3 separate regions of the Homo sapiens genome follow, and all the other regions are linked to region 3. The links are contacts of gene promoters, found by promoter capture Hi-C in human tissues and cell types (Jung and others, 2019). All regions are on one chromosome and are shown on one strand. The core of a region is centred on a gene start or on the middle of the fragment in contact, and the rest is flanking DNA. Distances in the headings are between cores, read along the strand shown. Region 1 has its middle 4.9 kb from the start of ZNF548. Region 2 holds the start of ZNF814 (zinc finger protein 814). Region 3 holds the start of ZNF211 (zinc finger protein 211).

Region 1 (3,430 bases), core at 451-2,950, 250 kb before region 3:
AGAGGGAGAGAGATTTCCTCATCTGGTTAGTGTAGATAGCAGGTTGGCTTCCTGAGCTGGTCAGTGCAGTAGTGGGTTAGAGTTCTGTTTTATATTTGGCTTGGCCATTGTTGATTTCTATAGTCAATTTCTTACATGTAAACAAGGAAGATAGCTATAATATTGAGATTTCTTGTTTTCTTAACTGGTCTTAGGTTGAAAATTGATTTTTCATTCTCCTCCCCGCTCCCCCCTCCCCCCACCATCCCATTCTTCTGCCTCTGCCGGATCTTCAGCTGGGTAGCATTTTGGTTTTGTTTGTTTTTTAACCTGGAGGATGTCCCCAAATATCAAAACCTAAACTTCTGATTCTTAGAAGTCCTCCCTTCGATGAGTTGCTAGTTTTATTTCTGAACATGAACTTACCAAAACATCCCCCAGAAATCCCCTGGTCTCAGACATAACTCTCTATGCTTCCCATTCCATGGCAGCAACTCAGCCTAACTCATCCAAAGCAAAAAAGCAATCCCTTCTTGCTTAAGTGACACAAGGATCCCCAGATGAACAAGTAGCTGTATCACCCTTCAATTAAATGTAATAATATTTACTTCTGGTGGAACCTCTCCTTCCTTGGAACAAAGGGCCCCCAACCAGCAGAATTTACAATTAAGAAGAAGTGGCCAGACACAGTGGCTCAAGCCTGTAATCCCAGCACTTTGGGAGGCCGAGGCAGGCAGATCATAAGGTCAGGAGTTCGAGACCAGCCTGGCCAACATGGTGAAACCCTATCTCTACTAAAGATACAAAAAATTAGCTGTGCGTGGTGGTGCGTGCCTGTAATCACAGCTACTCGGGAGGCTGAGGCAGGAGAATTGCTTTAACCCGGGAAGAGGGGGTTGCAGTGGGCTGAGATCATGCCATTGCACTCCAGCCTGGGCGACAGGGCAAAAAAAAAAATTAGCCGGGCATGGTGGCGGGCGCCTATAATCTCAGCTATTCAGGAGGCTGAGGCAGAAGAATCGCTTGAAGCCGGGAGGCAGAGGTTGCAGTGAGCTGAGATCGCGCCAATGCACTCCAGCCTGGGTGACAGAGCAAGATTCTGTCTCAAAAAAAAAAAAAGAAAAAAAGAAAAAAGAAGAAGGGTAGCAGAAATTCTGTGAATGAGTTACTAGGTTCAAAAATGAGGATGCTCAATATAATGCATAGGTTCAGAAAAAAATTACGATGAAAAGAATTGTCAAATTTTGTAACTGATACTTGACCTGGTTAAATTTGAATTATTTCTAATTCCCTATGTATATGTGCAGTGAGATAAAAGATAAATATTGTATGTGACATACTCATCATAAAATTATTTGTTGTTTATCTGAAATACATTCTAAATCAGGGGTCCCCAACCCCTGGGGCCACAGATGAGTACTATGGCCTGTTAGGAATGGGGCCATATAGCAGAGGGTGAGTGGCAGATGAGTGAGCATTGCTGCCTGATCTCCGCCTCCTGTCAGATCGGCAGCAGCATTAGATTCTCATAGGGGTGCAAACCCTACTGTGAACTGCACAAGAGAGGGATCTAGGTTGTATGCTCCTTATGAGAATCTAATGCCTCTGAAACCATCTGCCCCCAAACCCCTCTCCCTTATCCATGGAAAAATTGTCTTCCACAAAACCGGTCCCTGGTACTAAAAAGCTTGGGGATCACAGTTCTAATGACATAACTCTTTCCCTGATAATTTGCTTCTACTTAACAATTCCTTGTTTTATATAATTTGCTTACAGAATTCCTGCAGTTACAGTCTTGATGCCATTTATGTTGTGACAAACCTTCGTCATTTGTCATATTCAACTTATTTCATTCCTTTATCTATTGGACATTCATTAATGAGAAACACACTCAACAGTAGCATTCTGAGCCTAAAGACTCATGATGATAAACAGTGTAGAAAACATTACAAACTCTATTATAATTATTCTACCATCTCCATCTGATTTTAACAAAAAAGTTATTTTGTCTCTTTCTTTGGAACTAGTTGAGAAAATCATGCACCTTCCAAAGTTAATATATATTTGACTGTCCACCATTTTCATTAGTCAATGGGCAATTACATAGAGTCGAAGACCTTCAAAGGGAATTTTAAATACTCCTCAGTTCATCATAAATTATAAACTTGCATTTTGACATTTTTTGCATTCAATATACTCAAAATATAGACAATAGCAACTTCTACAAGAGTTGAAAAACATTGTGGGTACAGTGGCTCATGCCTGTAATCGCAGCACTTTGGGAGGCCTAGGCGGACAGATCACTTGAGGTCAGGAGTTCGAGACCAGTATGGCCAACATGGCGAAACCCCATCTCTAATAGAAATACAAAAAATTAGCCAGGCATGGTGCCACGCGCCTGTAATCCCAGCTACTTGGGAGGCTGAGGCATGAGAATCACTTGAACCTGGGAGCCAGAGGTTGCAGTGAGCCGAGATTGCGCCACTGCACTCCAGCTGGGTGACAGAGTGAAACTGTATCTTAAAAAAAAAAAAGAAAAGAAAGAAAAAAGAAAACACTGGAGAAAACGTTGGATTTTACAATGTATGTCTGGGTCAGTTAGTCTACCATTTCATATCCAAACTCATAACTAATTACAAACAGATGGAACCATTGAAAGCTTGCAAACTTTTAAATTATATTCATATAATTAAAATATAAGTAATAATTTATATTCAATTAAGAATAAATGGGGCCAGGCGTGGTGGCTCATGCCTGTAATCCCAGCACTTTGGGAGGCCGAGGCAGGCGGATCATGAGGTCAAGAGATCGAGACCATCCTGGCCAACATGGTGAAATCCCGTCTCTACTAAAAATACAAAAAAATTAACTGGGCGTGGTGGCGTGCATATGTAGTTCCAGCTACTTGAGAGTCTGAGGCAGGAGAATCACTTGAACCGGAGAGGCGGAGGTTGCAGTGAGCCGAGATCACACCACTGCACTCCAGCCCAGCGACAGAGTGAGACTCCGTCTCAAAAAAAAAAAAAAGAATAAATAGATTTTGATATCTCAAGGGAAAAAAAGTGATATTCCTATTTGTCTGCAGGGCAGAGCTGTAGTGGTCAGGCAGTCTCCTCAAACAAAGCCAAAACTGCTATTATATGAGCTTTTAGGAAGGCTGGCCTTCAGGGACTGAGGACTTTCAGAAGCAGCAGAGTTGAAAGACTGATGGACTTTCAGGTATGTTAGTGTAAATGCAACCATTTACCAACTGGCTTTCATAAACAGGATTACTGACAGGAGGCACTTGTGGATTAGTTGTTGCCAGCAGCCTGGGGCTGCCACTGATTGACCATCTTTAGTACTGGGCCTTACCCCCATTGGAAAAATTTTAGAATCTTGGCCTAACAATGATTTGCTAAGTTTCTGGTTAATTACTGGGGTGAAGCTTTTGCTGACTAGCTGACTTTTA
Region 2 (2,974 bases), core at 91-2,590, 260 kb after region 3:
TTAACTTGTGTAAGCAGATTCTCAACATATCAAAGGAGTCCAATTAACTGATAAGGGACTGGGAACAAACCATGTATGAAGTTCCCAGGATTTTGCTCAAAAGATAACACCATAAAGCCTTGAGTTTGTGTCTGGCGTAGTGCCCATATCTAACTCTTATGAAGGATTTAGAGCGCCACACCTGGTACCTTGCCTTTTTGTAACCATTTGTCTTTTAAATTGTTTGTTTCTCTGTAACCATTTATCCTTTTAATTTTTTGCATGTTTTTACTTCTGAAGAGTTGTTGCATTTAAGCTCCCCTCCCCTTCCTAAACCAAAGTATAAAAGTTAATCAAGCCCCTTCCTCGGGGCCGAGAGAATTTTGAGCGTTAGCCGTCTCTTTGGCCGCCAGCTGAATAAAGGACTCTTAATTCGTCTCAAAGTGTGGCGTTTTTCTAACTCGCCCGGGTACAACAGTGTTATGTTTAACCTTTAACATTTACATGTTAAGTATACTATTGTGTATTGTTTGCTATATTGACTGACTTGGGGAGTGTCTTCAGCCTCTGTGCCCATGGCCAACTACCAAGTGAACTGGAATCACAAGAGAATTGCCTCCTTCGAACTCCATTTAGCTCATGGCTTTTGTTGACTCAAATATCACCTGACACTGTGCAAAGACACAAACATGCATGGACCTGATTATCTCTACCCTTACAATGCTCATGACATCCCTCCTTTCTTCGAAAATCTCCATGCCTTCTAGGGTCCTCACGTGAGTTCATAGCCCCCAGCCTGCTTGCTCTTCCAGGAGGAGCTCCGCCTCATAATTTGCTCCCAACAGGCACCTGTGGACCCCAGATTCCATCCTTCTGGCTCAGTTCACTTCCAGGCCTTTGCCCGCGCCAGTCCCTGTACCTGCCGGTCTCCCCACCGCATCCCACGGGTGTCAGAAATGGGGCCCCTCCCGCAAGCGCCTCAGTGTCCCAACGCCGGCGTCCGGGCTGCAGAGCCGTGAACAGGCGCTGCTACCTCGCTGCTTTTGGGTGACGATGAGGTGACCTGAGGACACAGAAGGCCCCACAATTACCTGAGCGGAGAGCCTCAGCGTAGCCGCGGCAGCCATCGAACCACGTGGTTTTAAGCAGAGTCGGGAGGATAGGGCGACCAGCCAGGAGATATGGGCACGACGGTCCGTATCCTGGCCCAGGAGTGGGTCACGCTGGGCGCCGTCACAGAGCTCCAGAGTAGCCTCTGTGCAGCGGAGGACAACTGCTCCCCGACTTCTGGGTTCAGTCACCACAGTGCGGACCTAGCGCTCAGGAGCCTCTCCTACAAATAAATCCAACACCAATCAAAATGGCCGCCACCAGAGGGCGCCGGAAGTCCGGACCCATTGTCACGTGCACACAGGAAACGCCTTTATTCTGAGCCCTCAGAGGTCTTCTACGCTATCATTCGAGGCTGAGTTTTCTGGGTAATGTAGTTCCCTAGGCAACAAGGAGGGTAAAGGGCGCAATTCCCAGAGGCGCTTCTGCAGGAAAAGCCCAGCTTCACCTCGGGAGTATCCTTAAGATGTGCGTCCTGACTGGTATGGTGGCTCCCGCCTGTAATTCCACCAGTTTGGGAGGCCAAGTCACAAGGATCATTTGAGGTCAGGAGTTAGAAATTAGCCTGAGCAACAAAGCAAAATCCTGTCTCTACAAAAAATAAAAAATATTAGCGGAGTGTGGTCGGGCGGGCCTGTGGTCCCAGCTGCCCTAAGGTTGGGGTTAGGGTTAGGGAGCCTGAGGAGGGAGAATCGCTTGAGCTCAGGAGTTCGAAGCTGCTGTAAGCCGAGATCGTACCACTGCATTCCAGCCTGGGCAACAGAACGAGACCTCTTATCTAAAAAATAAAAATAAGGGCCAGGTGCGGGCGGCTCACGCCCGTAATCCCAGCACTTTGGGAGGCCGAGGCAGGTGGAACACCTGAGGTCAGGAGTTCAAGACTGGCCTGGCCAACATGGTGAAACCCCGCCTCTACTAAAAATACAAAAATTAACCCACATGGTGACATGCGCCTGTAATCCCAGCTACTGGGGAGGCCGAGGCAGGAGAATCTCTTGTACATGGGAGTCAGAGGTTGCGGTGAGTGAGATCCTGCCACTGCACTCCAGCCTGGGTGACACAGCAAGACTCCATGTTGGAAAAAAAAATAAAAATAAAAATAAAAAAATAAATAAAAGATTGCAGATCTTTCTCCTAGGCAGAGGATCATCCTGCCTCTCCTTAGAACTCACATTGAGATTTCTTGGGGTTATTGGCTGTAACTGATTACCCTAGTGTATGGAAAAATATTATTTCAGAGTTAGTGTAGATGTTCCCAAAGGCTACAGATCCAAATTCACCTATCATTTCAGATGGTCCTTCAGATGCAAAATTCTTCCACTGGAAGCAAAGATTAATGCAAAGATTAATAACCATTATTGTATTGTTAAAATGAACGTGTAAACACCCAGAGGGTTCATTTTTCCTACTGCCCAGATAAAGCCAATTTATCAGGACAGGGAAATTGCAAAAGAAAAAGAGTTTTATTCACACAGAGTTGGATGAACAGCATACTGGAGTCTTACTAGTATTACTCAAATCAGTCTCCCTGAAAATTGCGAGACTGGGGTTTTTTGTTGTTGTTGTTGTTTATTTGTTTGTTTGTTTTCTGAGACAGAATTTTGCTCCTGTTGCCCAGGCTGAAGTGCAATGTCACGATCTCAGCTCACTGCAACCTCCGCCTCCTGAGACTGGGGTTTTTTAAGGATAATTTGGTAGATAGGGGGCCATGAATTGGGGAATGCTGATTGGTTGGGTTGGAGATGAAATCATAGGGAGTCAAAGTTGTTCTCTTGTGCTGAGTGGGTTCTGGGGGAGAGGGAGGCACAAGACCAGATAAGCCAGTTTACCCATCTGAGTGGTGCCATCAGATCCATCAAGTTCAGGGTCTGAAAAATATCTCCAG
Region 3 (3,211 bases), core at 646-3,145:
TGAAGCAATATGTAATGGTTGGTTCTGTAATATAGGCCCAGCCAAGAACTCTAACCTTTTTCCTAAAAACAATGACAAGCCCATTGTGAGATCTAACCAGATGTACAATAGTAGTCATTCCACTTATAAATTTTTGTAGTAAATGTGTAAACAAATACATTATATATTTGATAAAATCATTTCACAACTTTTAATTTTATTTTATTTTACTGGTATTAATTTGTCCTAAAGGATCATTTTTATTGTGAAACGTAAAATTTGATCTATCTAATATATATAAAATGTATATGTGTACATTTAACAATGTGCATATATGTACCTTAAAATAATATAAACTTTCTGGGCGACGGAGTGAGGCCCTGTTTAAAATAATGATAATAATTTGATATTTTATGCATTAAAAACTTTTGTCTGGGCATGGTGACTCATGCTTGTAATCTCAGCAGTTTGGGAGGCTGAGGCAAGAAGATTGCATGGCCCTAGGAGTTTGAGACTAGCCTGGGCCCTATAGGGAGACTCCATTCCTACAATAATTTTTTTTTTAACTAGCCGGGTGTGGTGGTGTGCTTGTAGTGCCAGCTACTCAAGAGGCTGAGGTGGGAGGATCACTTGAGCCCAGGAAGTGGAGGCTGCAATGAGCTATGATTGTTCCACTGTACTCCAGCCTGGACAACAGAGTGAGACCCTGTCTCAAAAAAAAATTAAATGTTTTGATTATACAAGGAAAATGAACATTCATGTATTAAAGCTTCATGTTTTATGAACAAAACTGACTTTGCAGGCAGGAGAGCGTTTTCTGGGGGCACCAGAAGCAGGGAACTTCCCTTGTCCGTTGGCTTCAGGGCTGCCCACTATCCCTCCACTATCTTCCCATTGTAGCCCTGTCTGGTGTCTTTTGTCCCTGACAAAACCTACAAAAAGTGACTTTAACACTTCAGGCTGCATGCATTTGAAGAGCAATAAGATAACGTTTTTTCGCTTCCCACTACCAGTGGAGATCTGCTGGGGTGGGCTGCATGGAATCTGAAATGATGTCTAAATACTGAAGTGAACCTCTACACTAGAGACTGATATACAGCTGACCCTTAAACGACGCAGGGGTCAGGGATACCGACCCCTGCGGAATTGAAAATGCTTGTATTACTTTTGACTCCCCTAGGTCTTAACTACTAATAGCCAACTGTTGCCCGGAAGCCTTATGAAGTTGCCCGGAAGCCTTATGAATTACATAAACTCCCAGTCGATTAACACATTTTGTATGATATATGCATGATATATGCATAATATATATGATATATGCATTTTGTATGATATATGCATTATATATATTTTAGTATAAGAACTATACTTGTACTAAAACAGACCAGAGAAAGGGTATCAGGAAAATTGTAAGAGGCTCGTTGACATTACACCCAATTAAAAAAAGGAAAATAAAAGAATACGGAAGGGAAAATACATTTACTAATCATTAAGTGGAAGTGGATCATCATAAAGGTCTTCATCCTTGTGTTCTTCATGCTGGGCAAGAGAATGAGGTCTTGCTGTCTCTGGGGCAAGAGGTCGGGGAGCTGGAAGAGGCAGGAAAAGGAGCACACTCGAAGTAACGTTTATTGGGGAAAAAAAACGCCTACGTGTAAATGGACCCGCACAGCTCAAACCTGTGTTGTTCAAGTGTCAACCTACTTAAGACCTCAAACACCGAAGCCCCTCAGTCGCCCTGGAAGGCAGCAGACGCAGCTTCCTAGCGCTCCCAGCTGTCTGCACACAAGGCGCCCTCCGTCGCAGCCTGGGGGAGACTACATTACCCAGAAAGCCTTGCGTCGAGCGGCAGTACTTTGATCCAATGAAAATCCAAGACAGGGGCATTTCCGTGTGGGTCTACCCCCGCCCCCCCCAGGGCGGGACTTGTGGCGTCTTCGCAGCGGTCATTTTGGCTGCCCTCCCGGAGGTCCGTTCTGTCTGTCAGCCGCTTTGGTACGCTGCATCGGGATCGAAGTGACGGACCGTGAAGGCGCGAGAGTCAGGTCTGAGGGTCGGGGGCAGAGCCGCCCGCGAGGCCGGCCTGGGGATAGCGATGCTCGGGTTCCCCCCGGGTCGCCCGCAGCTCCCGGTCCAGCTCCGCCCACAGACTCGGATGGCGACCGCACTGAGGGACCCGGCTTCGGTGAGCGCTGCGATCTCCGGGCCTCCCCCGGCCGAGATTCTTAAGTCCCAAGTGAGAGGCACCAGCTCACGTCTCTGTAGCACAGGGTCGGGGACACTGAGGCTCGTGGGTGGGGCCCCTATTTCTGACATCCGATGTGGTGGGCAGGGGGACAAGGGACAGGACCGGCGCGTGCAGGGCTTGGACGGGCAACCGAGAAGGGGGCATTCAGGAACCTGGGCTCCACATTGTTACTGCAGGGAACAAAGTTTGAGAGAGATCTACCTTTATTCTTAGGGCCGTGGGAGCCATAGAGAGCTTGCGCAAACGAGAGACACCATCTGAGTTAAATTTGAAAAATCCTCTGCAGGCTGTTCAGTGGAAGAAAAGACTTTAGAGATGGATGAGGACGTTGAGGCAGAGGGAGGTTGAATATTTTTCCAAGGCCACACAACTGGTGAGAGGCAGCACTAAGGACCGAGGCGCACAGGTTAGACAGTCGACCCAAAGTTACGTGGCTCTGGGCCGGGGCAAGGGTACAGGGAAGGCCTGTGCCCATGGAGCACTGCCATGATCACATTCCTCTGAGGCCTGCGTCTTTCCACAGGTTCCCATAGCTACAGAGGTGCTTTTCAAACTTACACAGGTAAGTGGAGGTATCTCAGCCCCTCACTGGTCTGGAATGTCCCTCCACCCTCCCCAGACAGATATTTTCTTTAGATTTGTGGTGTCATGGGACTCACCTACCATTCTCTCAGCGTTTGGTTTGGGAACCCTGGAGAATCCCTGAGCTAAGGGCCCTGAGTCCAGGCCAATGTTTCCATTTGGAGCAGCCAATGGAAAGATGGGTGAAAATTTATGATAGAAACAGGTAGGTACCAGCTTTTGGAACTCCTTGGAGGTGAGGCTGAGCTGGTTCAGGGAACTGCAGGTTTCCTTTATTTCTGTGAAGTTTGGCATCTATTGTGAGGAAGTTGGAGTTTGGGATCAGAGGAGGGAGATTTATCTAACCCAAGTGTTGACAGGATACAGAGTGGAAAACAGAATGAACACAGTGACTAATGGGAA

The links. Contacts are between HindIII fragments. The study calls those that stand out against the background at their distance.
Region 1: a fragment that was not itself captured here is called in contact with the fragment with the promoter of ZNF211 in region 3 in 6 of the 25 tissues and cell types used here (H1 embryonic stem cells, aorta, dorsolateral prefrontal cortex and 3 more).
Region 2: the fragment with the promoter of ZNF814 here is called in contact with the fragment with the promoter of ZNF211 in region 3 in 4 of the 25 tissues and cell types used here (heart left ventricle, pancreas, small bowel and 1 more).

What each region holds. Positions count from the first base shown.
Region 1 is chr19:57,383,279-57,386,708 of GRCh38, forward strand. No RefSeq gene overlaps it. Among named protein-coding and RNA genes, the nearest start is that of ZNF548, 4.9 kb to the right of the region's middle. The HindIII fragment of the contact is 6,124 bases long and covers 1-3,430 here.
Region 2 is chr19:57,887,697-57,890,670 of GRCh38, forward strand. It overlaps ZNF814 (zinc finger protein 814), which reads right to left and starts at 1,341. Exons shown (of 3, transcript NM_001144989.2): 1 at 1,071-1,341. The coding sequence starts at 1,106. RefSeq lists enhancers at 1-217, 242-785, 786-1,328, 1,002-1,051. The HindIII fragment of the contact is 24,676 bases long and covers 1-2,974 here.
Region 3 is chr19:57,631,273-57,634,483 of GRCh38, forward strand. It overlaps ZNF211 (zinc finger protein 211), which reads left to right and starts at 1,896. Exons shown (of 4, transcript NM_006385.5): 1 at 1,896-2,164; 2 at 2,751-2,789. The coding sequence starts at 2,075. RefSeq lists enhancers at 1,496-1,585, 1,656-1,705 and a silencer at 2,146-2,215. The HindIII fragment of the contact is 12,794 bases long and covers 1-2,903 here.